Linked DNA regions of Homo sapiens: region 1 is linked to region 2. The links are contacts of gene promoters, found by promoter capture Hi-C in human tissues and cell types (Jung and others, 2019). All regions are on one chromosome and are shown on one strand. Each heading gives the region's core, a stretch centred on a gene start or on the middle of the fragment in contact. The rest is flanking DNA. Distances are from core to core; before and after follow the strand shown. Region 1 overlaps SYT14 (synaptotagmin 14). Region 2 holds the start of HHAT (hedgehog acyltransferase).

The links. The method cuts DNA at HindIII sites, captures the fragments that hold promoters and counts their contacts. A contact is called where the count stands out against the background at its distance.
Region 1: a fragment that was not itself captured here is called in contact with the fragment with the promoter of HHAT in region 2 in 1 of the 25 tissues and cell types used here (bladder).

Annotation. Positions count from the first base shown.
Region 1 is chr1:210,171,255-210,177,649 of GRCh38, forward strand. SYT14 (synaptotagmin 14) reads left to right here. Exons shown (of 9, transcript NM_001146262.4): 9 at 1-61. Among named protein-coding and RNA genes, the nearest start is that of SERTAD4, 58 kb to the right of the region's middle. The HindIII fragment of the contact is 4,632 bases long and covers 421-5,052 here.
Region 2 is chr1:210,324,191-210,330,637 of GRCh38, forward strand. HHAT (hedgehog acyltransferase) reads left to right here and starts at 4,712. Exons shown (of 12, transcript NM_018194.6): 1 at 4,712-4,914. RefSeq lists enhancers at 3,885-4,054, 4,929-5,288, 6,401-6,447 and a silencer at 4,519-4,768. The HindIII fragment of the contact is 7,053 bases long and covers 2,487-6,447 here.

The DNA.
Region 1 (6,395 bases), core at 1,487-3,986, 150 kb before region 2:
AAAGAATTTAAACGTTTGGTGCTCTAAAACTGAAAGAAATTAAAGTTGCTGCATCATCTAATCTCTGATTGTCTTTGAATCCTTAGTTCCATAAATTATCCAGAGCCTTTTTTAGTTAACATTTTTAAAGAGGGGAATGCCAGTGCCCAATTGGTCTGGGTTTTTTTTTTTCCTTTTTGTAAAGTTGTCTCTACTGAAATATAATGAAAACATGAAACACTTCTTCTGCTCAGAATAAATGGGTTCATAATGTAATCTCCAGTCTACAATTTAAGGAATTTGTATCCTTTCCCAGTACTCACTGCTGAATTATTCCCCCGCTCTCAAACATTTTGAGCTTCTATTATTAAGACATTTAGGCTGGGCACAGTGGCTCATGCCTGTAATCCCAGCACTTTGGGAGGCTGAGACGGGCAGATCACAAGGTCAGGAGTTCAAGATCAGCCTGGCCAACATGGTGAAGCCCCATCTCTACTAAATAAACACAAAAAATTCATCGGGCGTGGTGGTGCATGCTTGTAGTCCCAGCTACTCTGGAGGCTGAGGCAGGAGAATCGCTTGAACCTGGCAGGCGGAGGTTGCAGTGAGCCAAGATCGCGCCACTGCACTGCAGCCTGGGTGACAAAGCAAGACTCTGTCTCAAAAAAAAAAAAAAAAAAAAAGACATTTAAGGTTAAAAAAGCCAAAAGTAACAGATTTGCTTGAGTGTTGACAAAATTTGTTTTCTGAATTGTAAGAAATGTCTTACTTAGGGACAATTTATTATTTAATACTTTGAAAAACTTTATTTTCATTTGGGTCTTTCAGAGAATTACAATTAATATAAAGTGAAATTCCAGCAAAAAAATTGGCACATCTGCATTCTTGCTAATAAATCATGAAATTATCATTTTCTATTGTTATAAATGGATTTAGTAGTTATTCATTATAACAGGTTACTATATTTAAGGTATGTTTTTTGTTTGTTTTTCTCTTTTTTAAACCAAAACCTCACCAACCATTATATTTTAATTGCAAATTGATTGTAACTCCTTTGATCTCCAATATGCAAAATAATATTTAAGCCAACTTTTTCTTTCCATAGATTATCAAAATATTTCATGATATTTCCCATTTGAAAATAAAGTCATTCCCAATTTTAAAATAAATGGTCTCAGTAAAGGTATATATGGGATATTTTATTAGTAATTTACAATGAATTATAAAAATACACTACATATTTTTATGAAATTAAGTGCCAAATAAATGGGGCAAATTATGTGAGGATCTCATAAACTTATATTGATTAGTAAGAGAAAAAATGAAAACATCTACTCAGCATAAAGAAAATATATCTAAAGGAAAACCTTCCAAAGAATACTTTTAATATGTGGTAGCAACTGCCAATTCTTCACCAGAACCCATGTATTTCTCTTTCTTGTTCATATGGCTAGCTTACTATTTCTAATGTCTTGCCTTGAGATTAGGCATGGCCATGTGACTGAGTTCTAGCCAACTGAATACAACCAGAGATGATGTCCAATTTCTAGGAGGTTTTATTTTTTGAGACAGAGTCTTGCTCTTTTGCCCAGGCTGGGGTGCAGTGGCACAATCACAGCTCACTACAGCTTTGATGTCCCAAACTCAAGCAATCGTCCCACCTCAACCTCCCCAGTAGCTGGGACTACAGGTGCATGCCACCACACTCGGCTAATATTTTTATTTTTTGTAGAGACAGGGTCTCACTATGGTGCCCAGGCTGGTCCTGACCTCAGGGGCTCAAACCGTCCACCTGCGTTGGCCTCCCAAAGTGTTGGGATTACAGGTGTGAGCCACCACGCCCAGCCCAGGAGGCTTTTTAAGAATCAAATATGGCCAGGCATGGTGGCATATACCTGTAGCCCCAGTTACGTGGGAGGCTGAGGCAGGAGGATCATTTGAACCCAGGATGTGGAGGTTGCAATGAGCCGAGATTGTGCCATTGCACTCCAGCCTAGGCAACAAAGGGCGTTCCTGTCTCAAAAAAAAAAAAAAAAAAAAAAAGGAATCAAATATGCCTTTTCCGTGCATTCTTTCACTTTCCACTGGCTGGACACAGAGAAAACTGAAAGCTTTCAGGAATGGCAAAGCCCCAAGTTGGAGAGATTCTGGGTCACTGAGTCACCTCACAGAAAACAGACAACCAGGTATGTATACCTTGGAATGACAGCATAATAAGGAAAAAAAAACTTCTATTATTTTTGAGCCATTACTTATTTTGGAGTACATTTGTTACTATAAACAACCGAAACTAAAAAACTATTGATACCTTCCAGTGGAGTTCTGTGAGAATGAAAACCTGAAATATTCTACATTAACTTAGCAGGCAGGCAGCCAGTGGTGAGGAAATAGATATAGCAGCCTGGAAACCTGTAGCCGTATTTTGCAGTGGCAAAGCACGGATAACCAGTTGCCTGTATATTGAAGGTGGTCAGTGCAACTACCGAAAGTGTAGTTCAGGGGAAATGGATGGAAAGAGCCAGAGTAGCGGTGCATTTGAGATTTTCCTTGCTAAAATGTATTATGAGAAAGCAGTAAACTCAGGCAGGAGTTCTGTGGCTCTCACGGAGAGATTGAAGGGAATGGAAAAGAGCCCTGAGATTAACTGCCTTGGGGTTGGAAAAGTCTGCTGCTTCTGGATTCCCAAGTATTAAGATAGAAAATTGAAAAAAGTGTTGAATAAGAAAAGCCCATTGAGACTGCTCAACCAAACACAGGGACTCAACCTCATGGCAAATATCAGAATTGTTTTAGTGTTCCCTCCTGTTTCAGAGGAACTCCAGGCCAACTTTCATCCTCATGAAGCAAGCTATGAAAGTTGTGTGGCCTCCAAGAAGGAAACAGTTCTCAATATCTGCTTCAAATGAAACCATAGCATGTAACAGTCTTCGGACTCCTCAGAAGTCAGAGCAGGGGATCACTGAGAATAATGAATAACAGAGTTCCTCTTAGAAAATAGATGGAGCCAAACAAAAAACTGCCCCTAGGCCAGGCGTGGCAGCTCACGCCTATAATCCCAACACTTTGGGAGGGTGGGGCAGAGGGATGCCAGGAGTTAGAGACTAGCCTGGCCAACAAAGGGAGACCCAATCTCTACCAATAAATAAATAAGTCGGGCGTGGTGGCACACGCCTATAGTCCCAGCTACTCAGGAGGTTGAGGTGGGAGGATCATTTGAACCCAGGAGTTCGAAGCTGCAGTGAGCTATGCTCATATCACTGCACTCTTGCGCTCTGGCCTGGTTGGCAGAGCAAGACCCTGTCTCTAAAAAAAACAGGAAACAGAAATAAACATTTAAAAACTGCCTCTGCTGAGAGAATTGGGGGCCGGGGTTTCACTGCTGTGAATCAATGACTGCTATGTTTCTCATTCGTCCCTTTTTCAAATGGGAATTTTTAATGGCAGTTATCTTCTTCCTGCTCTGCATTATGTATTTAGTGGAAGTTGGAGGGGCAGATATCTTTAAATTCCCAGGTCATTGGACTTGATGGAAAGGAGAGTGTATCACCAGAGATAGAGGACTTGGAGAAGACTGCAATAACTGGATGGGACTTTAGGTGGTCTTCTTTAGGGAGAAAGTAAGCTATTTAACTAAACCTTTGTTCTCTTCCTGGACGCATGCTAGACTACATTTCCCAGCCTCTCTTGCAAGTATCTGTGGTTATGGGACTGAGTCCTAGCCAACTGGAATGTGAGTGGAAGTGGTATGTACCATTTCTAGGCCCAGTGCCTCCATGGTCTCTCTCCCCATGCATTAGCTGGTTACAGAAGATGGCTAATATACTAAGGGATGGTGAAGCCACAGATGAAAGGAGCCTGGGTCCTTGATTCACTGCTTGGAGGTCATCACCCATCAACCAGTAATATCTTCAGAGTGTTACATGAGAAAGAAAAACTTCCACTGTGTATTTGAGCTGTTATTCATTTGGGGTCTATTTTATCCCTGCAGCACTAGCATACACTGATAAGTAAACTCATAGTAACTGAGGAAAATGCTAGATAGCACTGTAGCAAAAAAACAGAAGTTCCAAACAATATTTGGAAAGGCAAGGTCTAACACCTAATTGTTGGGGGCAAAAATCAAAGAGTAAGATAAGTCTCCAGAACACTGCCTGCCAGCAGTACTGGAAGGAGTTATTTTAGGAATGGATTGTAAGGCTTTTGGAGAGATTCAAAATGCCTAACTCTCCAACTTCATCAAACTACAAGAAATGAGTTTAACTGTGACCCAAGGGATGAAATGAAGTGATAGGTAGAAAGCCAGAGGAACAACTAAAACCTGAGCATCAAACCTACAGACATAACTGAAGCAATAAGAATGTTGGAGGAACACATTTGTAGGGTGAAGAGAGAAAGAACCCAAGCAGTGACCAGAGTTAAGGCAAGGACACCAGAAATGTCATGAGGGGCAAATGAAAACCAGATTGTCAAATCCCTTGAATCCAGACTAGAGACTTGAATAGTTAACCCCATAAGGTTTAGAGTAGAAGAGTAATTTTAAGAAGGCCAGTTTAATAGGGGTAAGAATCAGAAAGAGATCCATTGGAAGCTTTTTTTTTTTTTAAGATGGGGTCTCACTCTGTCGCCGGGCTGGAGTGCAGTGGCACAATCTCAGCTCAATGCAACCTCTGCCTCGTGGGTTCAAGTGATTCTCCTGCCTGAGCCTCCCAAGTAGCTGAGATGACAGGTGCCCGCCACCACGCCTGGCTAATTTTTGTATTTTTAGTAGAGACGGGGTTTCAGCACGTTGGCCAGGCTGGTCTCAAACTCCTGACCTCAGGTGATCCACCTGCCTCGGCTTCCCAAAGTGCTAAGATTATGGGTGTGAGCCACCGCGCCTGGCCGGAAGCTATTTTTTTAAAACCAGATGTTTAAAATCATAAGTGATTAGATATAAGGTAATACTAGTAACCTAGATCATGTGAATAGAGAATTTTTTTTCTTTAATGAGATGAGTGAGAGAGACATTGAAAAGGAAGCGTTCTGAGAATTGATGACCAATTCAGTGAGGAGTCATGCAAAGCACTGGAATGACCAAGTCACAGGAATCAAGAGCTGACATCCTCTCATTAGAATATACGTTCCCCAATGGCAGAAACTTTTCACAACTGTGTGCCCCATGCCTGAACAGTATCTAGGGCATAAAATGAATGAGTATTAATGAATCTTTATTTCTGATGGAGTTTGGGACATTGGGAAGTTTGAGGGGGCTTGAGAGTTTTTTTTGGGGGGTGTCTTTTTAGGCAGCTATTTGTTTTAATTGAATAGAATCAGCCAAGAATGGTTAGATTATATTTAATGTGCATTATTTTCCAAAGCAATAAAAATATACAAATACACTTGAGAAATATATTCAATAATACCTGAGATGAAAAGAATACTTGTTCAACAAAAAGAAGTTGATTTATGAAACCCCATTTCCTCTGTGATTTCTGGCTCATTAATTGATTTTTTAAAAAACCTCTATTTCTGACATTGCTATAACTGTTAATAGGGAAACAATACTAAGCTGACACCAAGCTTTTTTTTTCAATAAACTTCATTTTAGAACAGTTGTAGATTTACAGAAAAATTCAGATGATACTACAGAGAGTTCCCATACACCATGCACCCAGATCCCCCTATTAATAACATCTTACACTGGTACATTTTTTACAACTAATATCCAATTTGCTTCATTATAATTAAATGAAATCCCTGGTTTAATCAGATTTTCTTAGTCACCTCTCCTTGCCTATCTAATGCCCTATTGCTGTTCCAGGATCCTGTTTAGGATCTCACACTGCGTTTATTTATATGTCTCCTTAGGCTTCTTGTGCCTATGACAGTTTCTCAAACACTCCTTGTTTTTGACGACCTTGACAGTTTTGAGGAGGACTGGACAGGTATTTTGTAGACTGTCCCTTAACTGGGATTTCTCTGATGTTTTTGGTTTACAAACCTATTTTCCCATCTGGAAATATTACTCTGCTCAGCATGGAGTTATGAGTTTTAAATGGGTTGACCGAGGCAAGTTATCCAACACTTAATAAGTGTTCATGTAATTTTATTTTCATCTTTTCATGATTAATGAAAGGACACTCATTATCTTTGGCATAAACAGTCACTTCATATGCTTGGGGGGCATTATTAAATCAACCATCTTTTTTCTAAATAATATTAATACCTTTAATAAATTTTATTTTCCAGATTTCCTATTCTCTAGATCCTTTCTAACTAGCTTGACATCCCTTAATCCATGAAATCTGAGCCTCTATTCACTTATTTATCAAGGGTTCAAACACAACAAGGGCTTACAATATGGCTTTACATTTTATACCACTTATCTTACTTATTTTTTATTTTTTAGTCACAAAGCAAGTATAAAGATTCTATTT
Region 2 (6,447 bases), core at 3,462-5,961:
TTACTGTGTTAAAATATTCTGTGTTTTTCTGTGTATGTACTATTACCAGTGAGTTCTGCACCTTCAGATGATTTCTTATTGCTCATTAACGTCCTTTTCTTTCAGATTGAAGAACTCCCTTTGGCATTTCTTGTACAGGGCTGGTGTTGATGAAATCCTTCAGCTTTTGTTTGTCTGGAAAAGTCTTTATTTCTTTTATGTTTGAAGGATGTGGCTCGCTGAATAGACTATTCTAAGATAATTTTTTTTTCCTTCAGCACTTTAAACATGACATGCCACTCTCTCTTGGCCTGTAAGGTTTCCCCTGAAAAGTCTGCTGCCAGACGTATTGGTGCTCCATTGTATGGCATTTTTTATATTTTTTATTTTTTATTTTTTTATTTTTTTTTGAGACATAGTCTCATTCTGTTGCCCAGGCTGGAGTGATGCAATCTCAGCTCACTGCAACCTCTGCCAACCAGGTTTAAGTGATTCTCTTGCCTCAGCCTCCTGAGTAGCTGGGATTACAGGCACCCACTACCACACCTGGCTAATTTTGTATTTTTAGTAGAGACAGGGTTTCACTATGTTGGTCAGGCTAGTCTCAGACTCCTGACCTCAGGTGATCCACCTGCCTCAGCCTCCCAAAGTGTTGGGATTACAGGCGTGAGCCACTGTGCCCGGCCAGGAACCTTTCTTTATCCTTGAGCCTTGGGAGTTTGATTATTTAATGTCTTGAGGTAGTCTTATTTACGTTAAATCTGCTTGGTGTTTTATAACCTTCTTCTACTTGGATATTGATATTTCTCTAGGTTTGGGAAGTTCTCTGTTATTATCCCTTTGAATAAACTTTCTACCCCTATCTCTTTCTCAACCTCCTCTTTAAGGCCAGTAACTCTCAGATTTGCCTTTTGAGGCTATTTTCTAGATCTTGTAGGTGTACTTCATTTTTTAAAATTATTTTTTCTTTTGTCTCCTCCCACTGTGTATTTTCAAATAGCCTGCCTTCAAGCTCACTAATTCTTTCTTCTACTTGATCAATTCTGCTATTAAAGGATTCAGATGCATTCTTCAGCATATCAATTGTATTTTTCAGCTCCAGAATTTCGGGCTTAATTCTTTTCAATTATTTCATTTGCTTCATTAAATTTACCTGGTAGGATTCTGAATTCCATCTCATGTTTTCTTGAATTTCATTGAGTTTCTTCAAAAGAGCTATTTTGAATTCTCTGTCTGAAAGGTCACTCTGGGATTGATGCCTTATTTAGTTTGTTTGGTGATGTCATGTTTTCCTGGATGGTCTTGATGCTTGTGAATGTGTGTCAGTGTCTGGGCATTGAAGAGTTAGGTACTTATTGTAGTCTTCACAGGGTGGGCTTGTTTGTATTCATCCTTCTTGGGAAGGCTTTCCAGGTATTCTAAGGGACTTGGGTGTTGTCATTTAGGTTTGGGTCACTGCCATCATATCTGCATTAGAGGGCACCTCAAGCTCAGGAATGCTACGGCTCTTGCAGACTCAGAGGTACCACCTTAGTGGTCTTGCATAAGATCTGAGAGAATCTTTCCCCAGCTGCTGCTGTAGGATGAGGGAGGGGTAGCGTCTGCAATTCAAGACTGTCTTCTCTACGCTTTTCAGTGCCTCTTTCAGTGATATGAAGTTAAAACTTGGTACTGCAATGGCCCACTTGATCTTTGGTTCTTATTAAGGTGTTTTTTGTTGATAGTTGTTCATTTTGTTGTTCTTGAAGGGAGGACAATTGGTGGAAGCTTCTATTTGGCATCTTGCCCCACCTCCCTTAGATTTTGATAAATTTTAAGTTTTCATACTGCCAAATTGCTTACCCAACTAAACATTGTGTGTGAGTGCTATCACATAGCACCCATGCCAGGCTGTAATGTTATTTATTAATTTTTTGCCAACTTAATGTGTGAAAATTGTGTGTTCTTGTTTTTTTTTTTTTTTTTTTTTTTTTTGAGACGGGGTCTTGCTCAGTCACCCAGGCTGGAGTGCAGTGGCACGATCTCGGCTCACTGCAACCTCTGCCTCCCGGGTTCACGCCATTCTCCTGCCTCAGCCTCCCGAGTAGCTGGGACTACAGACACCCGCCACGATGCCTGGCTAATTTTGTTTTTGTATTTTTAGTAGAGACGGGGTTTCACCACGTTAGCCAGGATGGTCTTGATCTCCTGACTTCGTGATCCACCCACCTTGGCCTCCCAAAGTGCTGGGATTACAGGCGTGAGCCACCATGTTCTTGTTTTACTATGCATTTCATTGAGCTTTTTGCAATATATTTTTGTTTCCTACTTTTATTTCCCTCCTCCTTTTTCTAGTGGGTTGTCTATAAATGTGTCTTGCTCATCTATAATTGATTTCTAATGTTTTCTTATTGATTGTATTAACTCTATATATAATTTTAAAATTAACACTTTGCAAATTTCTTGCAAATATCCCAGTCTATTGCTTATCTTTAAATTTTGGCTATTATGGCCAAGCATGGTGGCTCACACCTGTAATCCCAGCACTTTGGGAGGCTGAGGCAGGTGCATCACTTGAGGCCAGGAGTTCGAGACCAGCCTGGCCAACAAGGCAAAACCCTGTCTCTACTAAATAGCCAGGTGTGGTGGCTGGTGCTTGCCTGTAATCCCAGCCACTCAGGTGGCTAAGGCACAAGAATTGCTTGAATCTGCAGTGAGCTGAGATCATGCCACTGTGCTTAGCCTGGGTGACACAGTGAGACTGTCTCTAATACATACATATATATATATATATATATATATATATATATACACACACACATAAATTTTGGCTATTTTTATTTGATGTTTCTGATTGCCTGTGTTTAAATCTGCCTTTATCTCCTTTGTGTTCGCCGGTGAATTTAAAGTGCATATGTAGACAGGGGTTAAGTGTAAATCACACTGAACCTATATTAACAACAGCATCTTTTAGAAATAATATAGGAGCTGTTATCACATCCCTGTCCCTGAGTTTGACACTACCTGAGTTGAGTTCTTATTCTGCCACTCCCTCTGCCAAACCCTTGGATCTAGAGTTGACAGATAAAATACCCAGTTAAGTTTGATTTTCAGATACCCAGGATGTAAATTTGAATTTCAGATATACCATTTTTTTTTTTTTTTTTTGGTAGAGATGGAGTTTCATCATGTTGGCCAGGCTGGTCTCGAACTCCTGGATTCAAGTTATCTACTCACCTCGACCTCCCAAAGTGCTGGGATTACAAGCTTCCTGTAAGTACTTAAAAAAAATAAGTATATCCCAAATATTGCATGGGTCATAGTGATACTAAAAAGTTACATATTGTTCACCTGAAATTATTTACTTATTTTTTTGAGACAGAGTCCGGCTCAGTCACCCAGGTTGGAGTGCAGTGGTGCGATCTGAGCTCACTGCAACCTCTGCCGCCCGGGTTCAAGCGATTCTCGTGCCTCAGCCTCCCAAGTGGCTGGGATTACAGGTGCAGGCCACCACACCCGGCTAATTTTTGTATTTTTAGTAGAGACGGGGTCTCACCATGTTGGCCAGGCTGGTCTCAAACTCCTGGCCTCAAGTGATCCTCCTGCTACCGCTCCTAAAGTGCTGAGATTACAGGCGTGGGCCACCGCGCCCAGCCTGAAATTCAATTTTAATTGAGTATGCTGTATTTTTATTTGCTAAATCTGGCACTCCTATTTGGGGCTAGTTTACTAACACCTGCTTACTGAACACCATCCAGTACCAGGTTTTGGGGTGAGTGGGTTGGGGGGAAGCAGAAAGAAAAGATAGCTCCAGCTCTTGGAGAGTTCATACTCTGGTTTCCTGGAGAATTCTAAAATCATTAAAATAATCCTCTCGACCATTACAATGACTGCTAGATGAAATTTCTGAGAGCACAGCTTCCGAGTTTCCCTGCTGCCTAGGGCAGAGTTATCCACCTTCACCTTATCATAGAACCACCTGAGACGCCCCTGCCATGGACAGTCTGATGCTTTTGGTTTGGGGAGGGATCCAGAAGCCCGAGGTTTTAATGAGAGCCACGTGATTCTGCTGAGATAAGTCTGGAGAACTCTGGCAAGCCTGTCTCTTGGCTCAGGCTTGGAGGCCTCCGAGCAGCAACATCGTCCCAATTATACCCCGTTGGAGCATCTTCAGATCTTCCACTCTTTTCACAACGCAATCAAAATCTTCGTACCCATTTTGCAGTAGTGATCTCTGTAAGTTGCTTTACAATTCATAAAGTTTATTCTATTTGATCTTCACTCTAATTTACAAAGAAAAGCAGGGAAGTCTATTTCTGTTTTACAGAGGTGTACAGGGAGGCTCACAGGGGCTAAGTTCACACAGTAAGCCCTCGAAGCTGCCAGGGCTGCAAAGCCCACCCTCTTTCCACCGCACCGAACTACCTCCTTTCGCCTACAAAACGTAGGTGGGGACCACTGGTGTTGGAATGACGGCCCACCTCGAGTTTCAGGTGACTTCCACTCTGCAATTAACTTGCAGGCAGCCCCAGACCTGCAATGAACACACGGGTGGGGGAGAGATATGCACGCCAGGGTCAGTGGGAACCAACAGCCGAGGGGTGAGCGGGGCTAGGGGCCCCGGGCCGCCGGCGGGGCAAACGCGGTTCAGAAACGCAGGCCGCGCTCTGGCCCGCCCCCTGCAGCAGCACGGCCTGCTCGCCATCGCCCGGAGAGCGCCGCGGGTTCCCGAGTCCGGGCGCGGAGGGCGCGCGGGCACGGCGGCAGGGGCGTGCTCGGAGGACGCGCGCTGCGCTGCTCCTCCAAAGGGCAGCTCCGGGGGAAAGAGGGTGGCGTCCCGGGGAAGCCCGCAGCCGCCGCCGATGTCGCTGGGACTCGGAAGTGCCGAAAGAGGGGTGTTGGGAACTCGCGGCGCGCGTGAACGTTGCCGTCGCCGCCGCCCGGGACAGCCCGGAGGTTGGTAACTGGTGACCATAGGGGGTCCTGGGGAGGTTAGATGCTGAATTTTCTGCGTCAGTTTACTCTGTTAAAAAAAAAATGCACAAAACGCTTTCCGTTTCCTACCCAAGTTCCCGTGTGCGCGCCCGAGGGCGGGACAGAGGAAGTTCCCGGTCGGGCGAAGAAGACAAAAGCGGCGGGGGCCGCGCGCGCAGTGCGCCCGGGCAAAGGCGGGGATCTAGGCGCCGGGACAAGTCCGCGCACGGCCCTGCCCACGTCCTCTCTCCTTGGCTTCGTCCCCAGCTTCCGGAACTGCTGCGGGGAGTTGCGAACTCTGGTCCTCTTGGCAGTATCGGCGGTGCGCCTGCCTGCCTGCTGTGACTCCAGGGACTCTAAAGTTAGAGACTTCCTTTGCGTTCTATCTTCAGGACTCAGTTTTCTTCCTCTGTTCTGAGTCTAACCTTCAGGTGGCAGGTCTTTATGCGGAAAAACCCTCCCGCTAATCCTCACCAGAGGTACTTTACGGGTAGCATTGGTGTTAAGAAATGTGCTGCTACCTGTGTACATTGCTCTTGGATCAGGGTTGTAGGGCTAGGGCATTTGGCATCCTCAGAGGTTTGCATTACGTGGGAGTGAGACATTGCTTCTCTTTCTGTTTTTGTTGTTGTTTGTGTTTTTGAGGCGGAGTTTCGCTCTGGTCGCCCAGGCTGGAGTGCAATGGCACAATCTCAGCTCACTGCAACCTCAGCATCCCGGTTTCAAGCGATTCTCCAGCCTTGCCTCCTGAGTAGCTGGGATTACAGGCATGCGCCACCACGCCCACCTAATTTTGTATTTTTAGTAGAGACGAGGGTCTCACCGTGTTGGCCAGGCTGGTCTCGAATTCCTGACCTCGGGTGATCTGCCCACCTCGACCTCCCAAAGTGCTGGGATTACAGGCGTGAGCCACCGTGCCTGGCATCTCATTCATTCTCAGAGCTAAGGACCTATTTCAATGTGATTAAGTGCTATGGGAATGCAAGGAGAGGAGAGGGAAGGCTTCATTGAAGAGGCGGTAGTTCATTGAAGGAGACTTTGAGGAATGATTTTTTTCCCCTTCCATTCCTCATGTTCCATTTTCCCTGTGATTTTTCTCCCTCCTTTCTCGTTGCCAGTCAGTCCCTAATTGTGATTGTTTGATAAGGACAGCTCTGACCTGAGAGATTCAATTAATGTTAATTTAAGGAGACTGTGTGCTTATTAGGTGCTTTAGATACATTATTTCTAAACCTTACAGTAACTGGGAAAGATAAGTGTTGTTATCTCTTTTCACAGTAGGATAGAGAAAGCCTTGGAGGGGAGCCAAAGCCACAAACTAGTACATGTCAGGGCCGGGTTTTGGACTCCTCTTTTGGATCAACGCCTGTGCTTTATCTACTGTTTACTTTGCCCCCTCCTTGGAAGTAGGTTAGATGGATGAACTTAGGGTGAAAGTCAATTCTTTGGAGGGAGCAGCCGTTTTTGTGGGTGGCCAGATGTTGGTGGGAGCTCTGTAGGTAGCATCAGGAACTT